Regions from separate parts of the Homo sapiens genome. Here all the other regions are linked to region 1. Evidence: promoter capture Hi-C in human tissues and cell types (Jung and others, 2019). All regions are on one chromosome and are shown on one strand. Each heading gives the region's core, a stretch centred on a gene start or on the middle of the fragment in contact. The rest is flanking DNA. Distances are from core to core; before and after follow the strand shown. Region 1 holds the start of SGCA (sarcoglycan alpha). Region 2 holds the start of LRRC59 (leucine rich repeat containing 59). Region 3 holds the start of MRPL27 (mitochondrial ribosomal protein L27).

Evidence for each region. Contacts are between HindIII fragments. The study calls those that stand out against the background at their distance.
Region 2: a contact is called between the fragment with the promoter of LRRC59 here and the fragment with the promoter of SGCA in region 1, in 1 of the 25 tissues and cell types used here (mesenchymal stem cells).
Region 3: a contact is called between the fragment with the promoter of MRPL27 here and the fragment with the promoter of SGCA in region 1, in 2 of the 25 tissues and cell types used here (IMR-90 fibroblasts and lymphoblastoid cells).

Annotation. Positions count from the first base shown.
Region 1 is chr17:50,162,458-50,167,273 of GRCh38, forward strand. It overlaps SGCA (sarcoglycan alpha), which reads left to right and starts at 3,548. Exons shown (of 10, transcript NM_000023.4): 1 at 3,548-3,620. The coding sequence starts at 3,584. LOC105371818 (a long non-coding RNA gene) reads right to left here and starts at 3,900. Exons shown (of 4, transcript XR_934833.3): 1 at 3,561-3,900; 2 at 2,754-3,022. RefSeq lists an enhancer at 1,142-1,642. The HindIII fragment of the contact is 20,868 bases long and covers 1-4,816 here.
Region 2 is chr17:50,394,617-50,399,432 of GRCh38, forward strand. It overlaps LRRC59 (leucine rich repeat containing 59), which reads right to left and starts at 2,907. Exons shown (of 7, transcript NM_018509.4): 1 at 2,597-2,907; 2 at 313-372. The coding sequence starts at 2,701. It overlaps LRRC59-AS1 (LRRC59 antisense RNA 1), which reads left to right and starts at 308. Exons shown (of 2, transcript NR_199069.1): 1 at 308-376; 2 at 2,600-3,941. RefSeq lists a silencer at 2,884-2,953. The HindIII fragment of the contact is 9,986 bases long and covers 1,447-4,816 here.
Region 3 is chr17:50,370,287-50,375,102 of GRCh38, forward strand. MRPL27 (mitochondrial ribosomal protein L27) reads right to left here and starts at 2,898. Exons shown (of 4, transcript NM_016504.3): 1 at 2,845-2,898; 2 at 169-300. The coding sequence starts at 2,884. EME1 (essential meiotic structure-specific endonuclease 1) reads left to right here and starts at 2,943. Exons shown (of 9, transcript NM_152463.4): 1 at 2,943-2,991. RefSeq lists a silencer at 487-648 and enhancers at 2,432-2,901, 3,042-3,261. The HindIII fragment of the contact is 32,602 bases long and covers 1-4,816 here.

The DNA of each region.
Region 1 (4,816 bases), core at 2,298-4,797:
GCAGTTTCTGTCTATAATTATTCCAGCTAATAAAGGAAGGGGTGATCAGAGTGATCAAATCTGAATATCACTATTCTGCACACACACAAAAAATAAAACGCTAATGGCGGAGGCAAGACACTACTAAGACCACAGAAACGCATGATGTGCCTTCAAATGGAAGAACACTGTCACCACCTATGAAGTGGTCTCAACGAAGGAAATTGAACATAAACCTTATAAGGCCTCTAGATCCAACTACAAATTACAGTAACAATGTACAGGAAATACAACGTACAGGAAGTATGGAGGTGGGAGGAACATGTTAAAGATCACCATAGAGATGCAATCAGCAAAATCCAGAGGGCAAAAAACTACAGAAGAAATTTTCTGGCTCCTTCAAGGAACGAGAAAGAGAAGGGAGGGAGGGAAGGAAGGAAGGAAGGAAGGAAGGAGAGGGAGGGAGGGAAGGAAGGAAGAAAGGAGGGAGGGAGGGAGGGAAGGAAGGAAGAAAGGAGGGAGGGAGGGAGAGAAGGAAGAAGAAGGAGGGAGGGAGGGAGAGAAGGAAGAAGAAGGAGGGAGGGAGGGAAGGAAGGAAGGAGGGAGGAAAGGAAGGAAAGTATGAAGGAAGGAAGGAAGGAAGGGAGGAAGGAAAAAAGAGAGAGAAAGGATGTATGGGAACCTATAGATTTGAAGAAATTTAAAAGAGCCTTGGCCAGGCACAGTGGCTCACGCCCGTAATCTCAGCACTTTGTGAGGCCAAGGTGGGTGGATCACTTGAGGTCAGGAGTTTGAGACCAGCCTGGCCAACATGGTGAAACCCCTGGGCATGGTGGCACGTGCCTGTAGGCTGAGGCAGGAGAATTGCTTGAATCTGGGAGGTGGAGGTGGCAGTGAGCCGAGATCATGGCACTGCACTCCAACCCGGGTGACAGAGCGAGACTCTGTCTCAAAAAAAAAAAAAAAAAAAGCCCTATAAATCATCAATCAGTTGCAATGTGTGTATCTTCTTTGTATCTTGAGTCAAACAAATACACTGTAAAAATATGTATGTTTATGAGAAATTGGTAATTTGAACACTAGAAGTTTGATATTAAGGAATTTTATTGATGATGTTAATAGCTGAACGTGTTATGTGATTATGTTAAAAAGAGTCATTATCATTTAAAGATACACACTGAAATATTGATGGATGAAATTAATCAGGAGGGGTACAGATGAAACTAGACTGGCCATGAGTTGATAATTGTTGAAGCCAGGTGACAGATACACGGGGGCTTATTATAGTATGCTGCAAATTTTTCAAACTAAGAAGTTTAAAGACCCTGTGACCTCCCTTCCCACCCCTAGGCCCAATAGACAGAAGGTGCTGTGTGTTACAAGCAGCAGGTTGCAATCCAGACAGCTCTGAGTGGGAAGGTCCTCTGATGGCTGAGGGGCCTGAGAAGGGTTTCTGGGGACTTTCTGGCTTGTGGGACAGTCCCTGGCTCCCTTGAATTGGGCAGGGAGGATCTGATGGGGAAGTAGCTGCAGCTTTTCATTAAGGAAGGCTGGCCTCTGTGGGCCTGGTGACACTGGGGCCAGGCACTGCTACCTTAAGACAGCTGAGTGGGTGGCTCCAAAAATAGCCAGGGGGACGGCAGGGGGCGGGGAGTCACATGGAGAAGCTCAGGGGTGAGGCTGGGCAGGTGCCCAGGGGGTTGGCACTTCTGCCTGCTCCCCCAGAACCCTTGGGCTCTTCCTCTGCCTCCAGAACCTTTCTTCCTCCCTCCCTCTGTCTCTGAGAAGACAGAGAGATGGCCAGGTGATGCTGGGACAAATACTGCCTTGCCTGAGGGGACGCTGACTCTGGAATTTGGTGGCTCTCCAGGGATGAGCGGGTCAGTCAGGTGGAGAGAGAGAGAGGAAGGGACAAGGACTGCGTAACCTGCCTACCAGTCACCCCATCTGCAGGCCAACACCTGTGCCCTTAGGCTGGACCCAAGTGATCCTTGCCTGGGGTATTTTGTTGTCCTTTTGAGGCCCTGGAGGAGAGGTCACACAGGCACCAAGGATTTGGGAACCCTGGCAGCCATAGGTCCCCGCCCCCTTCTCAGGGCACCTGGGGAGAGTGCCCCTGTGCCTGCCCTAAGTGAGAGACCTGGGGAGAGGACACCGCGCCCCATCGCCCCTGGACTGAGATCCTTTGGCAGAGGCAAGAAGGAAGGGGAAGCAGGGCCGGGCAAGTACATCAGCAGCACAGTCATCGACTGAGCCAGGCACTGGGCTAAGCCGTCCACATGCATTCTACTCATCAGCAATGTGGCCTTGGGGAAGGTATACACCCCTGTGCCTCAGTTTTATCATCTGTTAAATGGGCACAGTAATAATACCTGCCTCATGGAACTGCTGAGGAGATGGAATGAGGTAATATAGGTAGATATATGTAAGATTCTCAGCACAGTAGCTGGCAGCGCTAGCTGGTATTACCCACTGGCAGGTGACCTCCATGTGGGCAGAGGTTTGCTTATCTTTGCAATTTCAATGTCTGATACATAGCAGGTGTTTCATAAATATGCGCTGCATTCATTACTTTGTGGAGTCCTCACAATGATGCCAAGAGGCAAGCACTATTCTTGCCAGTTTATAGTTGTGGAAATGGGCTAGAGGGCAAATGGTGCACTCAAGGCCTCATCCCCAGCAAGTGGCCAAGGTGGCCCACCTCCAGGCCTCCAAGTCTATGCGCCGAATGAACCCTGACTCCATGGGCCAGAGAGGGTGCCTCCTCCGCTCACCTGTCTCTAGCTGGCTGGTCCTGTCCAGGGCTTGCTAGACCTCCACGCTGAAGTGCTTGGACTGGGGATAAAGGCTGGGTGGATGGCACCTACGTTTGCTGTTAAGGAAGCTGCCGCCAGCCAGCTACACCTACTAGTTACCAGGCCCTGTGCCAGGCCCAAGGATACAAACGTGACAAGATCCTAGTCTTCGAGGAGCTTGGAGCAGTCTGTGTGATTGTGTTGTGCCCAGGAAAGCACGCAGGGGCTAAGGGGACACCCAGCTTGGCCTAGCAGAAGAAGGGAGGTCAGAAAGGCTTCAGAGAGGAGAGGACATCTGTGCAGAGTCTGGAAAGGTGACTGGAAGGTTGCTGCTTGAATGAAGGTGGGAAGGGAACTGCAGGCAGAGGCAATAGCCTGGACGACGGCTTGGAGACTTGAGAGAGTCTGCCAAGCTAGGCAGGAGCGGAGTGAGGCTGAGCAGGGGCCTGGGGTTGGAAGGGTAGGGGCAGAGGATGGGATTCTAGACCAGCTGACCAGGTTCAGGACAGGCCAGAAAGCCACCAACTGGGGATGAGCTGGGAACTCAGGGGCCATGAGAACCATTAGAGTTTTAAGGGAGGATGGAGGTGGCCTGGTTGGTGGTTTAAAAAACACTGTGGCCACTGGAGGGGACGGTTGGAGGGACAATGAGTGCGAGGAGGGTGTCTATCCCAGATTTGGTGCATGCTCCAGGCGGGGAGGGGAGGCTGACGCTGGGACCCAGCTGCCCCGAGCCACCTCCCTCCTTCCCTCCTCTCCTCCCTGCCCCCTGTCTCTGTCACTCACCGGGCGGGCCAGGCCGGGCAGCCATGGCTGAGACACTCTTCTGGACTCCTCTCCTCGTGGGCAAGTTGGGGCCTTGTTCAGCGGGGAGGCCCAGGATGAGGGGGCAGGATTTAGGGGTGGTAAGACGGAGGTGTGGAGGGCCCACAGAAGAGGGATCTGGGTTGGGTGAGGCAGGCGCCAGAAGGGCTTTGGGGTGTTAATGCCATGGCCAGCTGGGGATCCAGGGAATGGGGCTGGGAGCTGGGCTCTGGGATGAAGGGGCTGGGAGCTCTGAGGGCTGGAGGTGTCCTAGGGCCCGGGTGGGTCTGACAGCACAGGCCCAAAGGGTCGTGGGCCCTTTAATGAGCTGGCTGGGCCGCAGCTTCTAAGCCCAGGCTAAATTTGGCCCTGGGAGGGAGGGTGGAGCTGGCGGCCAGGTCCTCTGCTCCTCTCTTGGACTTAGGATTCCTTTTGCTCAGCTCCTACTGGCCTCTAGGGCAGGCCTTCTTCTTCCCTGTATTTTAGGGGAGGAAGGTGGGGGTCTCCAGGCCCAGAATGGCTACCCTTCCTCCTCTGTAGGCTCCTGGCCCCGTCTTCCTCTCCTCTGGGCTCTTGGGCATTTAGCATGGGATTCTTTTCCCAGTGCCTTTCACACATACACACCCTCACACACACACACACCCACACACACCCTCACACACACCCTCACGGCACCCTCACACACACACCCTCACACACACCCTCACACACCCTCACACACCCTCACACACACACCCTCACACACCCTCACACACCCTCACACACACACCCTCACACACACCGTCACACACACACCCCACACACCGTCACACACACCCCCCACACACACCCCCACATACCCCCACATACCCCCACACACCCCCCGCAAACACACACCCCCCACACACACCTTCACACACACACACCCTCACACACACCCTCTCACACACACTCACTTGCACACACACCCTCACACACATCCTCACAGACCCTCACACATACCTTCACACACACACCCCCCCACATCCCCTCACACACACACACACCCTCACACACACACTTCCCAGTCAAACATCAGTCCCTGCCCACTGCACCATTAATAGGGGCCTAAAACAAGGAATGGAAAGGTTGTGGGAGAGGTTCTCCCTCGAATCCCGAAACCCAGACGATTAAAATGTCTAGCCCAGCAGGGCTTGCTCCCCCATCCCCACCCCAATCCCTTCCTGGGAGGCAGCAAAGGAAGCGCTTCTCTCGGTCCC
Region 2 (4,816 bases), core at 1,657-4,156, 230 kb after region 1:
GAGGAATAAAATAATGTAGAAAAAAGATGAGCCCAGTAAGTTACTCAGCACCCTGTTGAGTTTAGTTTTCTGTGGACTGACTTTACCACTGTTCTGAAGAATGAGGCCTCCATCTCAATTCCTTTCCCACTGAGACCAACCACTCCATTCCACTGTGCCTCCCCTACACACTCAGATTTAGCTATAGCCTGCCTGTAGGCCTATCCTGAAATTACACCTTATGACACCCTCCCACCCCCCTCTCAACCCCCGAAACAGGAAGGAGATGCATCCAAGGCACCAGAAGGAGTCACGGCTGCATGCCAATCTTACCGGTAGAGTAGTCAGTTTATTACAAGACAGATCCAGGATGGTGGCCTTTGGAAGGGCAGCCTAGGTAAAAGAGGATGAGAAAAACATGTCAGACCAACATCTGGAACAATTCACTGACATATGTTAATGAAGCATTTTCCAGAGAATGTTCCCATGATTAGGAAAGGCCTTTTAAAATGGCAGTAAAGAGTAATGTTCCTGGGAATAAGAGGAAAAATAAGCCAGTCAACCATGATCTAAGGAAGAATGCAAAGAGAAGGGATGTGGCTGTACAACCTCCAAGAAGGTAAACCTTAGGCGAGGCACAGGGACTCACACCTGTAGTCTCATAGTCTCAGCTACTCAGAAAGCTGAGACAGGAGGATCGCTTGAGCCCAGGAGTTCAGGAGTTTGAGGCCGGCCTGCACAACACAGTGAGACCCCATCTCAAAAAAAAAAAAAAAGAAAGGAAGGCAGGCAGGCAGGCAGGCAAGCAAAATTTAGATTCTTAGACATTATTCCTAGCACTTTAAAAATAAATATTACCCAGCGTCCCTCTTATTAGGTTTCAGGGCAGGGACAGTGTCTAATAAAGCTTTGCAATTTCCATATTCCCCAGTTCAGGCCCTTCCTCAGAACAGGTACTCAATATCCATACATGTTGCCTGAATCATGACTGATCGAGTAAGTAGCGGAGTGAATGACAGAGTGAAAAAACAAGGCCCTGCCGGGTGCGGTGGCTCACGCCTGTAATCCCACCACTTTGGGAGGCTGAGGCAGGCAATCACCTGAAGTCAGGAGTTCGAGACCAGCCTGACCAACACGGAGAAACCCTGTCTCTACTAAAAATAGAAAATTAGCCAGGCATGGTGGCACACGCTTGTAATCCCAGCTACTCGGGAGGCTGAGGCAGGAGAATCGCTTGAACCCGGGAGGCAGAGGTTTCAGTGAGCCGAGATCACTCCTGGGCAACAACAGCAAAACTCCATCATCCAAAAAAAAAAAAGGCCCTCACAGCCCATCTCTATTTTCCCATGGTGTCCAGGCTGGACAAGCTCAGCAAAACTTTCTCCCTAAGGTTAATGCTGGACTGTTCAGATGCCTGGAGTATATGGTTTCAGAGAGCAGTCCTAGGGCAGGGTGAAATAAGGCTGGCCATCTATCTTCCTGGGGTAGAAAAGGAGGCATATATTCAGTTAAGGATCCTCTGGCAACCTGCACTTTCTGTCACAAAGTCGTAAAAGTGAAGTTTGACCACCTAAAAAAGTTTTAAATACTACAGCGGGAAAAACACAACAACAGCTACAAGTATCAGTATTTGCTCCTTCCAAGCATTTTCCATTACAATGGTATTTAACCTCCCAATAAGCGTATGAGATGGAAACTATTATCACCATTGTATAGATGAGGAGATCTAGGCATAAAGGCTAACTAGCTTGCCAAGGGCACTCGGCTATTAAGCAATGGAGCTGGGAGGAGCTAGGAACCCGGTTCTAACCACTGTAATACCCGTCCACGGTGGAAGAAAGACTGGGCCCAGCGCCCAAGGCAAATGTAATTTATCAACGGCAGAAAGCAAAGTGTGGGTCACCCAAAGTGAGTCTAGTAGGGCGTTGGCGCGGGTGGGAGGGGGAACGGAGTGGGAAAAGGAGGGATGTGGGAACTAGCTCCACGCTGACAAAACTAGATGCCTGCTATCTCTCTGGAGCTGTAAGCTTCAGTTTACAGGGGAAAGGTTGGGGGAGAGAGGGGCGAAAGGGACTCCCGCCAGTTTCAGCGGAATTCAGATGACAGTTTACCAGCCAAGCTGGGGGGAGACTTTACTTTCTTCGAGTTAGGCTGCCTCAGGGCTCGGGCAGCCAGCTGGAATTGCCAGCTTCCTAGAAGAGCCAGGTTCTGGGCCACACCCAGGTCTACCAGGAGGCCTACTCCCCTGGAACAAGTCACTCATTCATTCTCGAATACATCCAGTAACTGCTCCGTGTGCTCCTACTCAGAGTCGGGCACGGAGGTGGGCGCTGTGAAAGCCCCGCAAAGGTGACAGATTCGCTTCTTAGCCTGTAAAAAGCCTAGGGCCAGAGAAGCAGATCTTCCCTATGTTCTGGAACTGCGCCAAAGTGACACGTGTACATCCCGGGAAGAACCTTGGGCTGGACGCGGCCTCCTAGGGGACTTAGTCCCACCACCCCGCTTCTTTTTAAAGAAAAGGAAACTGATGCTTTTAGAGAAGAGGAAAGTAAGTGGCCCACGTAGGGGCCAGCGCCCGGCGAAGGTGGGCGCCTGGGCCTCGCGGGACGATACTGACCAGCTCCTTCACCGGGACCTCATTCAGGTCGCTGAGGCTCAGGTCCAGTTCGTTGCCGTCCAGCTTGTCGCGGAGGTTCCCGCCCTTGCTACCGGCCTTGGTCATGGTAACGCCGGCTGAGCGGGCCCCGGCTCCGGGGTTCCGGCGGGTGAAAGGAGCTGAAATGTCGCTTGTCAGTTCAGCGGCCCCCCACCCAAACGACGACGCCTGAGCCCTCCGTCGCCGCCGATGCGAGACCGCCTCCGCCCGCTGGCCGCACTCCGAGCCTCGCGCCTAGCTCCCACCGGTGCCGCGACGACGACCACTTCCGTGTCCACGTCACCTTCCGCGACCACTGAGATGGGCTGGGCCAGAGCGGCCCGAGCGTGTGCGGGCACGCCCCCTGGTGCCCAGGGTGATGCACTGCACGTCGCCGCCGCCGGAGGGGTGGGGTTGGAGGCTGCGAGCTCGGTTCACGTTCACCCGTGGCCCGCGGGCATTATTGCTGGCAGTGCCACGAGGCGAAAGGGCACGGACTGGGCGCCAGAAGACTGGGTTGACATCCAATACTGACCTCATCAGATCACCCCAATCCCCCTGATTAGGAGCAGAAGCTGGGTGTCCTCTAAAACTGCTCCCTGTCCTCTACTTAACCCCCGAATAACCATCATGGGGAAAACTCTTCTTCCTGAATTTCTCCTCTCTCCTCCCCACTCACTGCCTCAGTGCTTGTCTCTGTCCTTCCATCCACTTTCACCCAGCTCCCCGGTGATCTTTCTAAAAATCTGGCCAAGTCTCTCCCCTACGTAAAACCCTTCAAACTTGCAGCTACCTCTAGGATACGGACCACTTTCCTTTGGAAGCTGGGTCCTGCCTGCTTTCGCAGCTTCCTCACACGCTCCAGTCCCTGCCTGGCCTAGATGCTGTGTAGATTTCCAGGAGGTGGCTCCCACGTCTGGCCCTCCCCAGCGATGGCCCTCCCTCCCCCCCACTCACCTCTGTCTAGCTAATTCCTTAGTCCTTCAGGAAATCTCCCCTGAACACCGTGAATGCCAGACTGAGTTAGCGCCCCCCCCAACCAACTTAGGTCCCTGTTTGCTACTTTATCATCAGAGACAGTAGAGCTTGATGGCCAAGTGGGACCTCTGGCACTAATACCTATCCACTGGGTATTCATCCTGGCTCTGCCACTTGCTACTTATAAAACCGTAGACAATCACCAGGCTTCAGTCTTATCTATGAATCAATCTATGAGACATGTAGCTAACAGAGGTTGGGGAGAACTGAAGGAGTAAAACACACCAAGAGCTTACAGCAGTCACTGGCACTTAGTAAGTACCCAATAAATATTAGCTACAATTCATGATCCACCTTGTATTATACTCATCTTTATGTGTCTGTCCTTCATTCTGGACTGTGAGGACAGGGATTTTTGTCTTAATCATCTTCGTATGCCCAGAGTTGGCATACCCTGATGCAGGGTAGCTACTCATTCAGATGTCTGTTGAATAAATGAATAGATGGATGGATGAATGAATGAATGAATGAAGGAAGGAAGCACTTTACCCACTCCAAACCTCAGTTTACTCATTTTGAAATAGGGATATTAAAGCTTATCTCAGAGGGGCCGAGCAGGATAGCTCACACCTGTAATCCCAATACTTGGGAGGCCAAGATGAGAGGATTATTTGAGGCTAGGAGTTCAAAACCAGTCTGGGCAACATAGCAAGACCCCATCTCTAAAAAAATAAAAAATAAAAAATCTTGTCTCAGAGGGAAACTATGAACACCAAATAAAGTAAGTGCAATTGTTACGGGGGGTGGGTGGCAGGGGTCCTTGTTCTTAGAACTCCCAAGATGGTGGCGGGCCACTTCCAAGATGGCGGCAAGCCTCTTGTTCTCTGACCTGGGTTTCTTGGCCTCACGCATTCCAAGGAATGGAATCTTGGGCCATGCAATGAGTGTTATAGCTCTATTCAGCTCAATTAGGACAAATCCAGGCACTTAGCCACGCAGGAACAATGGCAAGCCTTTAGCCTGATCCAGAGCAGCAATGGGCGCCTCACTGGATCGGGAGCCCAGCAGACACCCTGCCAGATCCAGAGGGGTGGAAGTCAGCAGCGGGTCTGCGACAGCAGCAAACAGCAGTAGTGGACGGTAAGGAAAAGCTCAGCTCAAGCCGTAACAAACACGGACCAGAAAAGTGTGCAGTTGCAAGATTTAATAGAGTGAAAACAGAGC
Region 3 (4,816 bases), core at 1,648-4,147, 210 kb after region 1:
ACCCACCCACTCGATGACCCTTCCTCAGGTCTTATCCGTTCCTTTAAACTGGAGCCAATTATGATGGTAAGGAAGAACAGGGCCAGGCACACGCAGGGTTCTTCTGCTCTCCTAAGGAACATGAGGACAGGGTGCAGCTAGGAAGGGGAAGCCAAGGCACATCCTCACCTTCCATTTTCTTAATGCCTTGGCGTCTGCCTGATGACTTTCCACCGAGGTTTTTGGAGCTACCACCCGACTTCTTGGATGCGTATCTGACAGCAAGAGCTGTAGCCGGAGTGGGGCTTAGCAAGGATGTAACTGCAGAGAAAACAGAAACATTGTTCAGACAGACAGGCTCAAACTATTTCTGCCTCAATGGGCCACATGCTGATACGTGAGAGGCGGTGGGGAGATGAGAAAGCTGTGTCAGGGGAGCAGAAGTGCCACTGAGTGTATTAGTTCTCAGGGAATACCTCTAAGTCCTTGGCTTTCTCCTTTTGGGGGAGGGGGCGGGGGAGCAGTGAAACACAAATGGAAAAAAATAAACATCATGTGTTCTGGGTTCTGACACATTCAGTCTAAATGTGCTGAGGAGAAATGGACACCAGAGAGCTGCCTGCTTCAGAGGCTCACTCACCCTCATGCACCACGGAGGGGCCAGAACAGACTTGGGGAGCCCAGTACATCCAGAAAGGCTTCGGTTTCAGGCTCACCCACGACTTTCTTTCTTTTTTTTTTTTAAAGACGGAGCTTCACTCTTGTTGCCCAAGCTGGAGTGCAATGGCATAGTCCTGGCTCCCTGCAACCTCCGCGTCCCGGATTCAAGCGATTCTCCTGCCTCAGCCTCCCAAGTAGCTGGGATTACAGGTGTACGCCACCACGCCCAGCTAATTTTTCGTATTTTTAGTAGAAACGGGGTTTCACCATGTTAGCCAGGCTGGTCTCGAACTCCTGACCTCAGGTGATCCCAAAGTGTTGGGATTACAGGCCTCACCCATGACTTTCTCAGCTGTCCACTCATCCACTGCTCACCAAATACTAGTAAACCAAAAGGATGGCTGGCCTAAAAGTGGCTCCCACAGGGTCCTGGCCATTTCAGAAGGCTGGGCCCTTTCTTCTCAAAGCACATCAAGCAGAGGTCCAACCATGACCCACACACTGCCCTTGTTAATCTGACCTCTCCATACTCATTCCAAAGTGCTCAATAGCATTCATTTGCAGAAGTAAAATGAACTAAAATTCATACTAAGATGGTAGTCCCTTGCTGTATGACAAGCCTAGGGGTGCAACTCCTTGCCTGCAGGTCTCCAGACACAGCCATGATTTAAGGTCCATGCCAGTGTCTTTAGAGAAGCCTTGTGGGTCTCTGGAGCCTATAAGTTCAGAGTTCCTGAAGCCTGGGTTTCTGACATTTCCATGACACCAGAGACTAGCTGGGGCAAAGGACCAGAGATAAGGACTCAGAAAGACAACATGTTAAAACATGCCCGGCGCCAGGATCTACCTACCTTTAAACATCTATTCATTCATTTACATACTTACTAAGCTCAGGAGCTGGGCTTTTACTTTACTTACATTATCTCACTCACAAATCTTTGCTCTTCACCCTACTCCCCATCCTCCTCCTCAAAGTAAATGGTACCACCATTCATCCAGTTGCTTAGGCAGAAACCAGAGTCATTGCAGATTCCTTCTCTTTGCTGTCCTCACATATTGTTCACCAGCAAGCTCTGTGGATGCTAACTCCAAAACAGATCTCAAATTCATCCGTTTTCCTCCAAGTTCACTGCCACCACAAACATCTTGGCTAAATCATCTCTCCTCAGGGCTATTACGACTTTCCATTTGATTTCCTCATTTCCACTCCTATCCCCTTTAAATTTACATAAGAGCAATAGTTTGCTTCTCAAAATGTAAAACTGGCTCAAGTCACTCTCCTGTCCCTCACTCTACACAGGTCTAGGTCTCCTGTCATTCTTTTTTTTTTGGGGGGGGGGGATAGGGCCCCATTCTGTCACCCAGGCTGGAGTGCAGTGGTATGAACATAGCTCACTGCAACCTCGACCTCCCGAGCTCAGGTGATCCTCCCACCTCAGCCTCCTGAGTATCTGAGACCACAGGCAAGCGCCACTACACCCAGCTAATTTTTGTATTTTTTGTAGAGATGGGGTTTTGCCATGTTGCCCAGTCGGTCTTGAACTCCTGGGCTCAAGCGATCCGCCCACCTAGGCCTCCCAAAGTGTTGGGACTACAGGCGTGAGCCATCACGCCCCGCCTGTCATTCTTTAGGTTTTAAATGTTATCTCCTCAGAAGCCTTCCTTCACCGTCCAATCTAAAAAAAGACACACACACAGACACACATTATCCTTCTTCACAGCACTTGCCAGTCTACATCTACTTTATATGTTCATTTATTGCCTTATGCACCAGAGAGAACCGTTCGGGGGCTAGAAGCCAAGTCTTCACGTTTTCTGCTGATTTTCCGAACACCTACCGCCGTGTCTAGCACAAAGTAAGACCTCAATCTGCTGAATCAATAGATTAATTTTTTCAACCCCAATATGCCAATGTTACTAATACTTCTACAGAGAAAGGACCCACCCAAATCCCCAACCGCCAAGGAACCCGTCCGTGCTGCTGAGGCAGGAGAAAGACAAGTGCTCTTCAAACGCCCTCACTCACGGCTCCACCCAGGATGTGTCACGTGACCAGCGACACCGTCCCTCAAACCTGGAGTACCCCACACACTTCCCCTCGCATCCAAGGTCCTCCGCGGGGATCAGTGTCACCTCCTTCCCTCCCTGCTGGAGCTCCACTCTGCCTCCCCGCCTCACCCCGCTCTGACTACTGCGTCCCATTACCGGCTGTCCGGGTCCTCAGCGCCAACACCACCGACGCCATGCTTTCGATCACTCACTTCCGGTCTCGAAAAGTTTCTACTTCCGCTATCAGGAGATCTACTTCCGGGCCCTGCGTGGCAGTTGAAAGAGTGGCGGGAGAAGTTGCAGGTGAGCGTCCCCGGTCGCAGGCCTGCGGATTGGGCAGGGCTTCCCTCCTGAACACCGCTCTGCAGAATCTTGGTGGCTAAGGTGTCCAGGAGCCTCTGCAGCGGACCGCCAGCCTGAGAGGCGCAGAGCTTGTCGGGCAGGGGCCCGCTTGTCCCACTCCCCTGATTTGCAGATGTCAACGGAGGCCCAGCGAAGGGTCAGAGATGAGGCCCCCTCCCTAGTCATTCAACTTACTCTACTTAGCCAGCTGTGTGCCAGATGCTGTACTAAGCGCGGTGGATGCATTATTTTATTTAATTCTCACTACCTTATAAAATGGGTGCTGTTACCATCCCTGTTTTACTAAGGAAGAAACTGAGGCCTAGGCAGGTTACATGTCTCCTTCTGGGTCATACCTACAGTGTTAGTAAATGTTCAAGAAATGATTAGCTTTGCATATGACCCAGCAATTCTACTCCTAGGTATATACACGAAAGGGATTTGAAAACATACCCCCACAAAAACTTGTATGTCAGTGTTCATAGCAGCATTATTCATAACAGGCAAAAAAAGGAAACAAATTAAATGTCCAAGTGATGAATGGATAAACAAAATGTAGCATATCCATACAGTGGAATATTATTCAGTCATGAAAAGCAATTAACTACTGATACAGGCTACATCATAGATAAACCTTGAAAACAAGCTGAGTGAAAAAAGTCAATCACAAAAGGCCACATAGTGTATGATTCTATTTATATGAAATATCCAGAATAGGCAAATGCATAGAGACAGATTTATGGTTGCCAGGAGCTGGGGAGGGAGGGAAAGGACAGTGACGGCTTAATGGCTGCAGGAATTCTTTTTGAGGTGATAAAATAGTGATGATGGTTGCACAACATTGTGAATATACTAAAATCTACTGAATGTACACTTTTAAAAGGATATTATGCTGTGCAAATTATATCTCTATTTTTATTTTTATTTTATTTTTCTTTTGAAGCAGGGTCTCACTCTGTCACCCGGGCTGGAGTGCAGTCGTACAATCACAGCTCACTGCAGCCTTGACCTCCCAGGCTCAAGCAATCCTCCCACCTCAGCCTCCTGAGTATCTGGGACTACAGGTGTGAGCCACCATACCCAGCTAATTTTTGTATTTTTTTGTAGAGACGAGTTCTCACTATGTTGCCCAGGCTGTTCTCGAACTCCTGGGCTCAAGTGATCCTTCTGCTTTGGCCTCCCAAAGTGCTGGGATTATACGCATGAGCTACCATGCCCAGCCTATATCTCAATTTTTAAAAAGAACAGTTTTTGGCCAGGTGCAGTGGTTCACACCTGTAATCTCAGCACTTTGGGAGGCCAAGGCGGGCGGATCACTTGAGGTCAGGAGTTCAAGACTAGCCTGGCGAACATGATGAAAACGCATCTCTACTAAAAATACAAAAATTAGCCAGGTGTGGTGGTGGGGCGCCTGTAATCCCAGCTAGGCTGAGGCAGGAGAATCACTTGAACCTGGGAGTGAGGTTGCAGTGAGCCAAGATTGTGCCACTGCACTCCAACGTGGGTGCCAGAGTGAGACTCCATCTCAAAAAAAAAAAAGAAGAACTTTTGACATCTCCATTTCAAACGTGAAGATAAACAAGGGGTTGGAGGTGTTAAATCTTGTTACCACCTCCCCCCATTAAAATTTTGTAATGGTAACTCTACTTTGTTTATACTTCAGCTTGACCTGGAAAGAATTTGAGGAGGATTCCTGTTAGATTACCAGGAGTTAGAGTTCCAGATTGAATGTGTTGGGGCCATGTCATATTTCTCTGTTTCTGTATTCTCTATATCTTATATTTAT